Linked DNA regions of Homo sapiens: regions 1 and 3 are each linked to region 2. The links are contacts of gene promoters, found by promoter capture Hi-C in blood cells and fetal thymus (Javierre and others, 2016). All regions are on one chromosome and are shown on one strand. Each heading gives the region's core, a stretch centred on a gene start or on the middle of the fragment in contact. The rest is flanking DNA. Distances are from core to core; before and after follow the strand shown. Region 1 overlaps WDTC1 (WD and tetratricopeptide repeats 1). Region 2 holds the start of GPR3 (G protein-coupled receptor 3). Region 3 overlaps WDTC1 (WD and tetratricopeptide repeats 1).

What was found. The method cuts DNA at HindIII sites, captures the fragments that hold promoters and counts their contacts. A CHiCAGO score of 5 or more calls a contact.
Region 1: a contact is called between a fragment that was not itself captured here and the fragment with the promoter of GPR3 in region 2, in 16 of 17 cell types (M1 macrophages, total CD8 T cells, M0 macrophages and 13 more). The highest score is 9.6, in M1 macrophages.
Region 3: a fragment that was not itself captured here is called in contact with the fragment with the promoter of GPR3 in region 2 in 11 of 17 cell types (M0 macrophages, M2 macrophages, total CD8 T cells and 8 more); the score reaches 7.6 in M0 macrophages.

Annotation. Positions count from the first base shown.
Region 1 is chr1:27,306,247-27,308,946 of GRCh38, reverse strand. It overlaps WDTC1 (WD and tetratricopeptide repeats 1), which reads right to left. Exons shown (of 16, transcript NM_001276252.2): 16 at 311-2,700. The coding sequence ends at 2,564. Among named protein-coding and RNA genes, the nearest start is that of TMEM222, 15 kb to the left of the region's middle. RefSeq lists enhancers at 115-639, 640-1,165, 1,166-1,691. The HindIII fragment of the contact is 299 bases long and covers 1,246-1,544 here.
Region 2 is chr1:27,391,345-27,394,044 of GRCh38, reverse strand. GPR3 (G protein-coupled receptor 3) reads right to left here and starts at 1,423. Exons shown (of 2, transcript NM_005281.4): 1 at 1,308-1,423; 2 at 1-251. The coding sequence starts at 246. RefSeq lists enhancers at 661-1,196, 1,734-2,270, 2,271-2,700 and a silencer at 1,220-1,719. The HindIII fragment of the contact is 9,449 bases long and covers 1-2,700 here.
Region 3 is chr1:27,288,562-27,291,261 of GRCh38, reverse strand. All of the region lies in intron 6 of WDTC1 (WD and tetratricopeptide repeats 1), which reads right to left. Among named protein-coding and RNA genes, the nearest start is that of TMEM222, 32 kb to the left of the region's middle. RefSeq lists an enhancer at 1,037-2,022. The HindIII fragment of the contact is 3,699 bases long and covers 1-2,700 here.

The sequences.
Region 1 (2,700 bases), core at 146-2,645, 85 kb after region 2:
ATTGTTTCTTCCAATTCAGGTGTATTATTTTTTAAATGGCAACTAACTTGTTAGGACATAAATACTTTTTAAGTGATTTGGACTTAACTACTTAATAAATTGAACTGTTATTTCTTTTGGCTTAGAGGCTCCATGAAAAAATTACTGAGATGGTAATGGTGCTGTGAGCTAAGAAAGTTCAGGAACCTATAGTCTAAGAGATTATCTAATCCAGGGCACTTCAAAAACTTGCATATGTGAAATCAATTTAGTGGGTTATAGCCATATTTTTTTCCCTAATAAAACAGAAGGGTAAGCAGAGTACACTGCATGTAGCAAGGGTAAATATTATTGTGTAAAACTTTTGTTCATTTTTTTTATATATATATACACACACACATATCTACAAGTAATCATGTGTATATTGGGTCACAATGTAAAATGGTTTGAAAAACCACTAAGATTCCAAGTCCCTTATTTTACTGATGAGAAAACAGCCAGAGAGTGAAAGCTGATGATTACAAATCACAGCCATGAGAGCTGGGCTCTGCACTCAGCCCTGCTGGGCTGGGTGGCCGCTGCTCACGGTGACCCTTCAAGGCAGGCCTCATTCTGTCCAGTAGAGGTGTGGTTACTAAGTCATAGAGCTACAGAGGTGAGGGACCAGGTGCCCTCACTTTGGTTCCAAGACCCATCTGCACCCCACAAATGCCACCAGCCACACCTAGAACAAAATGGTTTTAATCAATTGCGTCACCCTCACTCTCCTGGGAGCGGAGCAACAAAAAGGCTCGGCTCCTGCCCCCAGAGGACAGTAAGGCTTATGTGTCTCTCCACACTGCAGGGCCCAGGCTGGGCAGGCAGGGGGTGGGAAGCAGGACAGGGGGCAGGGAGGGAGGGTGGGAGGCAGGGAGGAAATGGCAGGTGGCTGGAACACAAGAAAGCAAAGGGGACCCAGCTGGTCCTTGGGCCCCAGGGCCCAGCCCCAATACTCCTGCTCTCCCTTCTCCCTGGCTAGAGAAAGGTCACGGAGAAGAGACAGGGGAGCAGGTCCCAGCAGCAGGAGAAGCAGCAGCAGCTGTTTCCTTCACCAATAAATATACTTCATTACCAAGCTAGAAGAGAGGGGTGGGAAGAGGGACTGGGGTGGGAAGGAAGGGGGAGAAGCTGCCACCTGTGTTGCTGGGATTAAAGCAATGAGATGGTGCCAGACCCCCCACCACTATCCTCACCCTCCACTTGTCTTCTTAAAACTGTGAAAAAGCTTTTAACATGGCCCTCCTGTCTCCAGGGCTGCTCTGAAGCCTGACTGAGAGGAGGCACCTGGCAGAGACAGGGGCTGAGGGAGGGAGCGAGGGAGTGGAGGGAGAGGAGAAGGGAGGCTGCTTTTCCCCAGGGGCTGCAGCTGGAGGGCTGGAGCCAAGTAAGCACTGAAGGGGAAGCAGGGAGGGAGAGAGGGGGAAGGATGAACCAACTACCTGGAGCAGCTGGAGCTAAGAGCCGGGGGCAGAGGGGAGGAGAGGCCTGGTGAGTGGTGGGTTGATCGCTGCATCCAGTGTAAAGCTTGGGGCTGCTGGGGAGGGAGGGGCCGAGTAAGGGACTTTCCCATCTGAGTGGCTCAGGAGACCCACCCCTCTCCCCTCAGAGCAGCAGGGGACAGAGAAAAGCCATCACTTCTTTGGTCTTTGTGGCGGCTCAGCATGTGGGATGGGAAGGAGGGCAGAAAGGGCAGAGAAGGGCCCTTAGCAGGAAGCGCCACCTCAGCAGAGTAGGCCTGGCTGGGAGCTCTGGCAGAAAGGTCACAGTGAGGCTGAGGAGCGCCCAAGAGGAGAATGGCCGTAGTGCAGAAGTGCTGGCATGGATGGGTGGGGTAAGGTGCAGTGCCCCACCCTCTGCCAGGGCCCTTGGGAAAGGCAGAGCCTCCAGAGGTGGCCAGTGAGAGTAGGTGCAGGGCCAGAGCTAGTAGCCAGGAGAGGAGCGAGGGTGCTCCACAGCGACCTCAGCAGGTGGCCTGGTCTTGCCCACTCCAGGGCTCCCATCCTTCCTTTGGGCTCCGCTCTAACACTGGTGGCTCTGGAGGGAGGGTGGGACCCATCCTTTTTCAAAACCTTTCCTGAAGACCACAGGGGAGCTAGCCTTGCAGGCTAGGGAGCAAGAGTGGCAACAGGCCAAGGCGAGCCCTTACCAATTGGGAATCCCACTCCTCCTGCTGCTGCCAGCTAAAGGGCAGGACAGTCCCTGAAGACAGTTCAGCTTGTTCCTCCCCACCTGAGGCAGAAGGGGTTTTGAGGCAGGCCAGAGCCCTCCAGGGACATGAAAGCAGGAGATGGGGGGGGGCATATGGAGGGGTGTCCCCTCCTGCTCTTTTTTTCAGGGCTGGGGATAGTCAGGGGACAATCAGCCCAGAGTCCGAAAGCCAGCAAGTTGTAGCAACCTCCACCCCTAACGCCAAACTAACAAACAAAACAGGGGAAATGAAAAAAAAGGGTGGTGGGGAAGACAAACCAAAACAGAATCCCCTGACCTCCTGCCCAGGGCAGAGGGTCCAGCCAGTAGCAGGGGCTGGGGACCAGGGCTGGAGGGTCTAGCTGGGCCGGCACTGCACCTGGCCCTCAGAGCTGTCCTCATCATCAGAGGCCCCGGCACCCCCACTGCTCAGGCCCGTGATCCGGTAGCCCATGTTGAGCAGCATCACCTCCAACGGGTCTGCATTCATGCGCC
Region 2 (2,700 bases), core at 174-2,673:
CAGGCTGCCCACCAGCAGGAACATGGGGGCACGGAAGGCAGGAGTGCCCACGATGATGGCCACCACTAGCGCATTCTCGCAGGACACCAGGGTGCCTGAGATGCAGAGCACCACATCCCAGGCCTTAGGCGAGGGCAGTGGTGCGGCTGGACCTGTGGGCCCCTCTGCTGGGCCCACGCTGCTTACATTCACGTTGCCTGAGCCAGCTGAGAGCCAGGCCAGAGGGCTGCCTGCACCCCACATCATGGTACCTGCAGGAGAAAGGCCTTGTGAGAAGCTGACCAAGCTGGGTGATGGGAGTTGGGGTCTGGAGGGGGTGAGGTGCTTCTCAGGATACGTGGTGGGAGTCTCTCCTCAGGATACCTGATAGGGTCCCAATGCCTTATCCCCACATTCATGCCCTGGGGCTCTTCCCAGGATACCGCTGTCCCCTCCAATGCCCCCAGGCCTCTAAACAGGGGTCTCTTCCTGGGGATCCCTGTCCTAGGTCCTGCAGGTCTCTTTTTCCCACGTGTGTGACCAGAGGAGAGACAGAAGAAGGGGTACTATAAGTGGAAGAGGGCCATAGGATCCAGGGGATGCCCCCGAAGGCTCAAGATTGGGGTAGGGAAACATCTACCCCATCAGGGAGACTGAGCAGCTCCGCTCCCTCCCATCAGAGATGATGATGCTAGCTCGTGCCTGAGGCTCCCAGACCCCTCACGATTTTCAGTACTGCCAGCCTTAGACTCCGCCCCCAGGGAATGCGCGTGAAGCTCCCGCCAGCCATCACCCCGCACTCCCGCGGTAACACCTGGGAACTCAGCCCCCCACCCCCCACCCTCCCAGACTTCTGTTCCTGGCTGGACCCTTCTTTCCGCCTGAATCTCTAGGTCTCTGGGCAGACCCCCCTGCTGGAAGACTGGATCCCTGAGTCAGATGCCTCCTTCTGCCCGGACACCTGGATTTTGGGCCTGACTCTGCCTCCTGCCTGGATACCTGGATTCCTAAATTGGACACCTCCTGCTGTTCGGACCCCTGGGTCCCTGCCCCAGACGCCTCCTGCCGGCTTAACCTCAGATGACCATCAGTCCCTCCAGGGCCTCGGGTCCCTGCAGGAATGCTTACCCTTCGCCGGGTCATCCAACTCAACCCCAGCACTCGAGCACTTGGGCCCAAGCCTGCTAACCCAGAATCGCCTAAACCCAGAATTCCCACCTCGAACTCGAACCCCGGCCGGCCACTAGGAGCCTTCCGCCGGCCCAGTGCCCCAGCATCCTGCGTGCCCTTCAGGACCCCTGGTGCCCGCGGCGGGGCCCGCTACTCACCGCTCAGGACCAGGCGCGGCCGGGCCGCGGGGAGGCTCCGCTCGGGTCCTGGCGGCGCAGGGCGTGCGTGGACCCCGAGAAGCCCCCGCGGCCGCGGGAGAAGCGGCGTGAGTCACCCCGCCCCGCCCCCGGCCACCGGTTCGGTGACGTCAGCGGTCCGATCAGCCAATGGGCGCGGCGCGCTGGGGCGCAGCGCGCGTTGCGCGGCATAGTAATAAGGCCTCGCACCGCCCGCTCCCCCATTCATAAAAAGCGACCGTGGCTGCGGCCCCGCCCCCTCCCGAGTCCGCCCGCGCTGTCCTTGACGCGGCGCCCTCTGCGGGCCGGGGGTTTCAGAGGCGCCGGTGCGAGAGCCTTGAAGTCTCAGAGAGGCTGCAGGGAACGTGGTGGAAGAGTGGAAAGGGGGCCCGGCTAGGCTGTGGGGTGATGGGACCCTTGGGTGGCAGAGAGGCTGACGAGATCCAGGTGACGAAGGAAGAGCTTGTGATGGGGCTGGTTGGGCTTCCCTGGTGAGAATGACAGGGTTTCCAAGATGATGGGGCCCTGAGGTGACGATGACAGGGAGCACGAGGGAGCGGGGAGGTGGGTGGCAGTGACGACATTAGCATGGTGACAGAATCTTGGGGTGGGGGGTGATGGCCGTGGGACGCTAACGGTAGAGGGGAAGCCCTCAGGGCAACCATGGCAGTGTCAGGGTGACTATGCAGCAGGGGGGAGTTCAGGGACCCCGGGATGGCAGAGGCAGCGGCCTGGGAACATGGAGTGTCCAGGTGACTTCAGGTCACCATTACCCTGTCAGAATGGCTGGGGTACTGAAGCGACAATGCTAAGCCATGAGGACTGTGGGGCCCTGGAACGAAGATAGCAGGTGGCTGTGGTGAGTGGGCTCCAGGGTGAGGGGCACAGGGTAGAGGGTCTGGACTGACAGTGACCAGGCAGGTAAGTTGCTGCCAGGGCAAGTCCCGTGATGCCGGGGCTGGGATAAGAGCTGGGTGACGTCACTCATGTCAGCCCAATAGCGCCCTCACAGCACCGGAGGGGTGGGCCTGGCAAGATTTCAAAACCTGAATTATTTATTCCAGTATCTAGAAAGCCAGCGTGGAGGGGGTGAGGGGTGCACTTCCCTGAAGCAGGAGGAGATGGGGAGCCGGGAAGAACTTGGAAGCAGAAAGCCTGGCAGCTCAGTCCTCAGGGCAGGCCCCTCTCAGCCTCCTATTTTAGGCATCCTGATGGGTGGAGCAAGGAGAAAGAGCTCCCTCTTCCCCAACGCCATCTGCCCTTAGTCCAGGGGAACCACTCTGGGCAGACTTCTCCAGATGTGACAGATGTGGCCAGTCCTGCGGCAGGGGGACTGGCTGCTCCTTCTCCCTGTGTCTCTTGCCTTGATGCTCCC
Region 3 (2,700 bases), core at 83-2,582, 100 kb after region 2:
TAAATGTGGGTCAATTATAACTACAGAATTCTTTATCCTGCACATGCCATGTTTATTTCTGCCTTTGCAAACTCTGCTCAAGCTGGGGAATACACTCTGCTTTTCCTTGCTCATCCAAATCCTGTCTGTTCTGGAAGGCCCAGCTTATGTTCACCTTCTGCTAGGACACCTTCTCTGACTGTGCCTATGCCTAAACACTTAGGATCCTACCCAATGCGCTAGACGCTCCGCTTCTACCAGCTGGCCCTGGCAAAATCTGGTCAGCCAAGGTCAAAAAGTGCTACACAGAGTTGGACCTGCCACTGACAAAGTGCATTCTGTCTTCTGAGGTTCAGGGATGCAGTGACTTACCCCAGTCAAATACTGAGTGCGATTGCTAGGATTTGACCCCAGGTCTGTCTGACTTCACTGCCTTGCTCTTGACTATGTTATAATTTATATATGACTTAGATATTCCTCATCTGTAAAAGGAAAGAGGGCACAAAGTCCTACAGGAACTCAAGGGAGACAGATTAAAGCAGGCTGGGGAGATAAGAAAGAAGTTCTAAGGTCACAGCTGAAGAAAGGAGTTAAAGAAGGGCAACGACACCATTTTAGAATGAAGGGAAGTAGAGGCAAATGTGTAACAATGCAGGGCACTGGAAAAGGGGACAGTCCATTTTACCATTTCCGGGTGGCTTGCCCCCTCCCAGGTATATAGCCACTGACCAACTGTTCAAGAGAAATGTATCAAGCGGCTCTATGTGCCAGGCGCTGTGCTGGGCTCTAGGGATACAACCAAGAACAAGACAGACATGGAGTTGCTCTAAGAGAGTTTACTTTTACTATTTAGTGAGGATACAGACAAAAAAGTAAACCAATAAGTAAAAATAAAATAAGGCCAGGTGTGGTAGCTCACACCAGCAATCATAGCACTGTGGGAGGCCGAGGTGGGAGGATCACTTGAGCCCAGGAGTTTGAGACCTGCCTGGGCAACACAGAGAAACCCCATCTCTACAAAAAAAATAGAAAAATTAGCCAAGCATGGTGGAGCGTGTCTGTAGTCCCAGGTATTCAGGAGGCTGAGGTGGGAGAATCGCCTGAGCCCAGGAAGTCAAGGCTGCAGTGAGCCATGATCACGCCACTGCACTCCAACCTCGGCAATAGAATGGAGTGAGACCCTGTCTCAGAAAATAAATTAATTAGCTCCCTCTCCCTCTCCCCCTCCCCCTCCCCACGGTCTCCCTCTCCCTCTCCCCACGGTCTCCCTCTCCCTCTCTTTCCACGGTCTCCCTCTCCCTCTCTTTCCACGGTCTCTCTCTGATGCCGAGCCGAAGCTGGACTGTACTGCTGCCATCTCGGCTCACTGCAATCTCCCTGCCTGATTCTCCTGCCTCAGCCTGCCGAGTGCCTGCGATTGCAGGCGCGTGCCGCCACGCCTGACTGGTTTTCGTATTTTTTTGGTGGAGACGGGGTTTCGCTGTGTTGGCCGGGCCGGTCTCCAGCTCCTAACCGCGAGTGATCCGCCAGCCTCGGCCTCCCGAGGTGCCGGGATTGCAGACGGAGTCTCGTTCACTCAGTGCTCAATGGTGCCCAGGCTGGAGTGCAGTGGCGTGATCTCGGCTTGCTACAACCTCCACCTCCCAGCCGCCTGCCTTGGCCTCCCAAAGTGCCGAGATTGCAGCCTCTGCCTGGCCGCCATCCCGTCTGGGAAGTGAGGAGCGTCTCTGCCTGGCCGCCCATCGTCTGGGATGTGAGGAGCCCCTCTGCCTGGCTGCCCAGTCTGGAAAGTGAGGAGCGTCTCTGCCCGGCCGCCATCCCATCTAGGAAGTGAGGAGCGTCTCTGCCCGGCCGCCCATCGTCTGAGATGTGAGGAGCGCCTCTGCCCGGCCGCGACCCCGTCTGGGAGGTGAAGAGCGTCTCTGCCCAGCCGCCCCGTCTGAGAAGTGAGGAGACCCTCTGCCTGGCAACCACCCCGTCTGAGAACTGAGGAGCCCCTCTGCCCGGCAGCCGCCCCGTCTGAGAAGTGAGGAGCCTCTCCGCCCGGCAACCACCCCGTCTGGGAAGTGAGGAGCCCCTCTGCCCGGCCAGCCGCCCCGTCCGGGAGGTGAGGGGCGCCTCTGCCCGGCCGCCCCTACTGGGAAGTGAGGAGCCCCTCTGCCCAGCCAGCCGCCCCGTCCAGGAGGGAGGTGGGGGGGTCAGCCCCCTGCCCGGCCAGCCGCCCCGTCCGGGAGGGAGGTGGGGGGGTCAGCCCCCCGCCCAGCCAGCCGCCCCGTCCGGGAGGGAGGTGGGGGGGGGGTCAGCCCCCCGCCCGGCCAGCCGCCCCGTCCGGGAGGTGAGGGGTGCCTCTGCCCGGCCACCCCTACTGGGAAGTGAGGAGCCCCTCTGCCTGGCCACCACCCCGTCTGGGAGGTGTACCCAACAGCTCATTGAGAACGGGCCAGGATGACAATGGCGGTTTTGTGGAATAGAAAGGGGGGAAAGGTGGGGAAAAGATTGAGAAATCGGATGGTTGCCGTGTCTGTGTAGAAAGAAGTAGACATGGGAGACTTTTCATTTTGTTCTGTACTAAGAAAAATTCTTCTGCCTTGGGATCCTGTTGATCTGTGACCTTACCCCCAACCCTGTGCTCTCTGAAACATGTGCTGTGTCCACTCAGGGTTAAATGGATTAAGGGCGGTGCAAGATGTGCTTTGTTAAACAGATGCTTGAAGGCAGCAT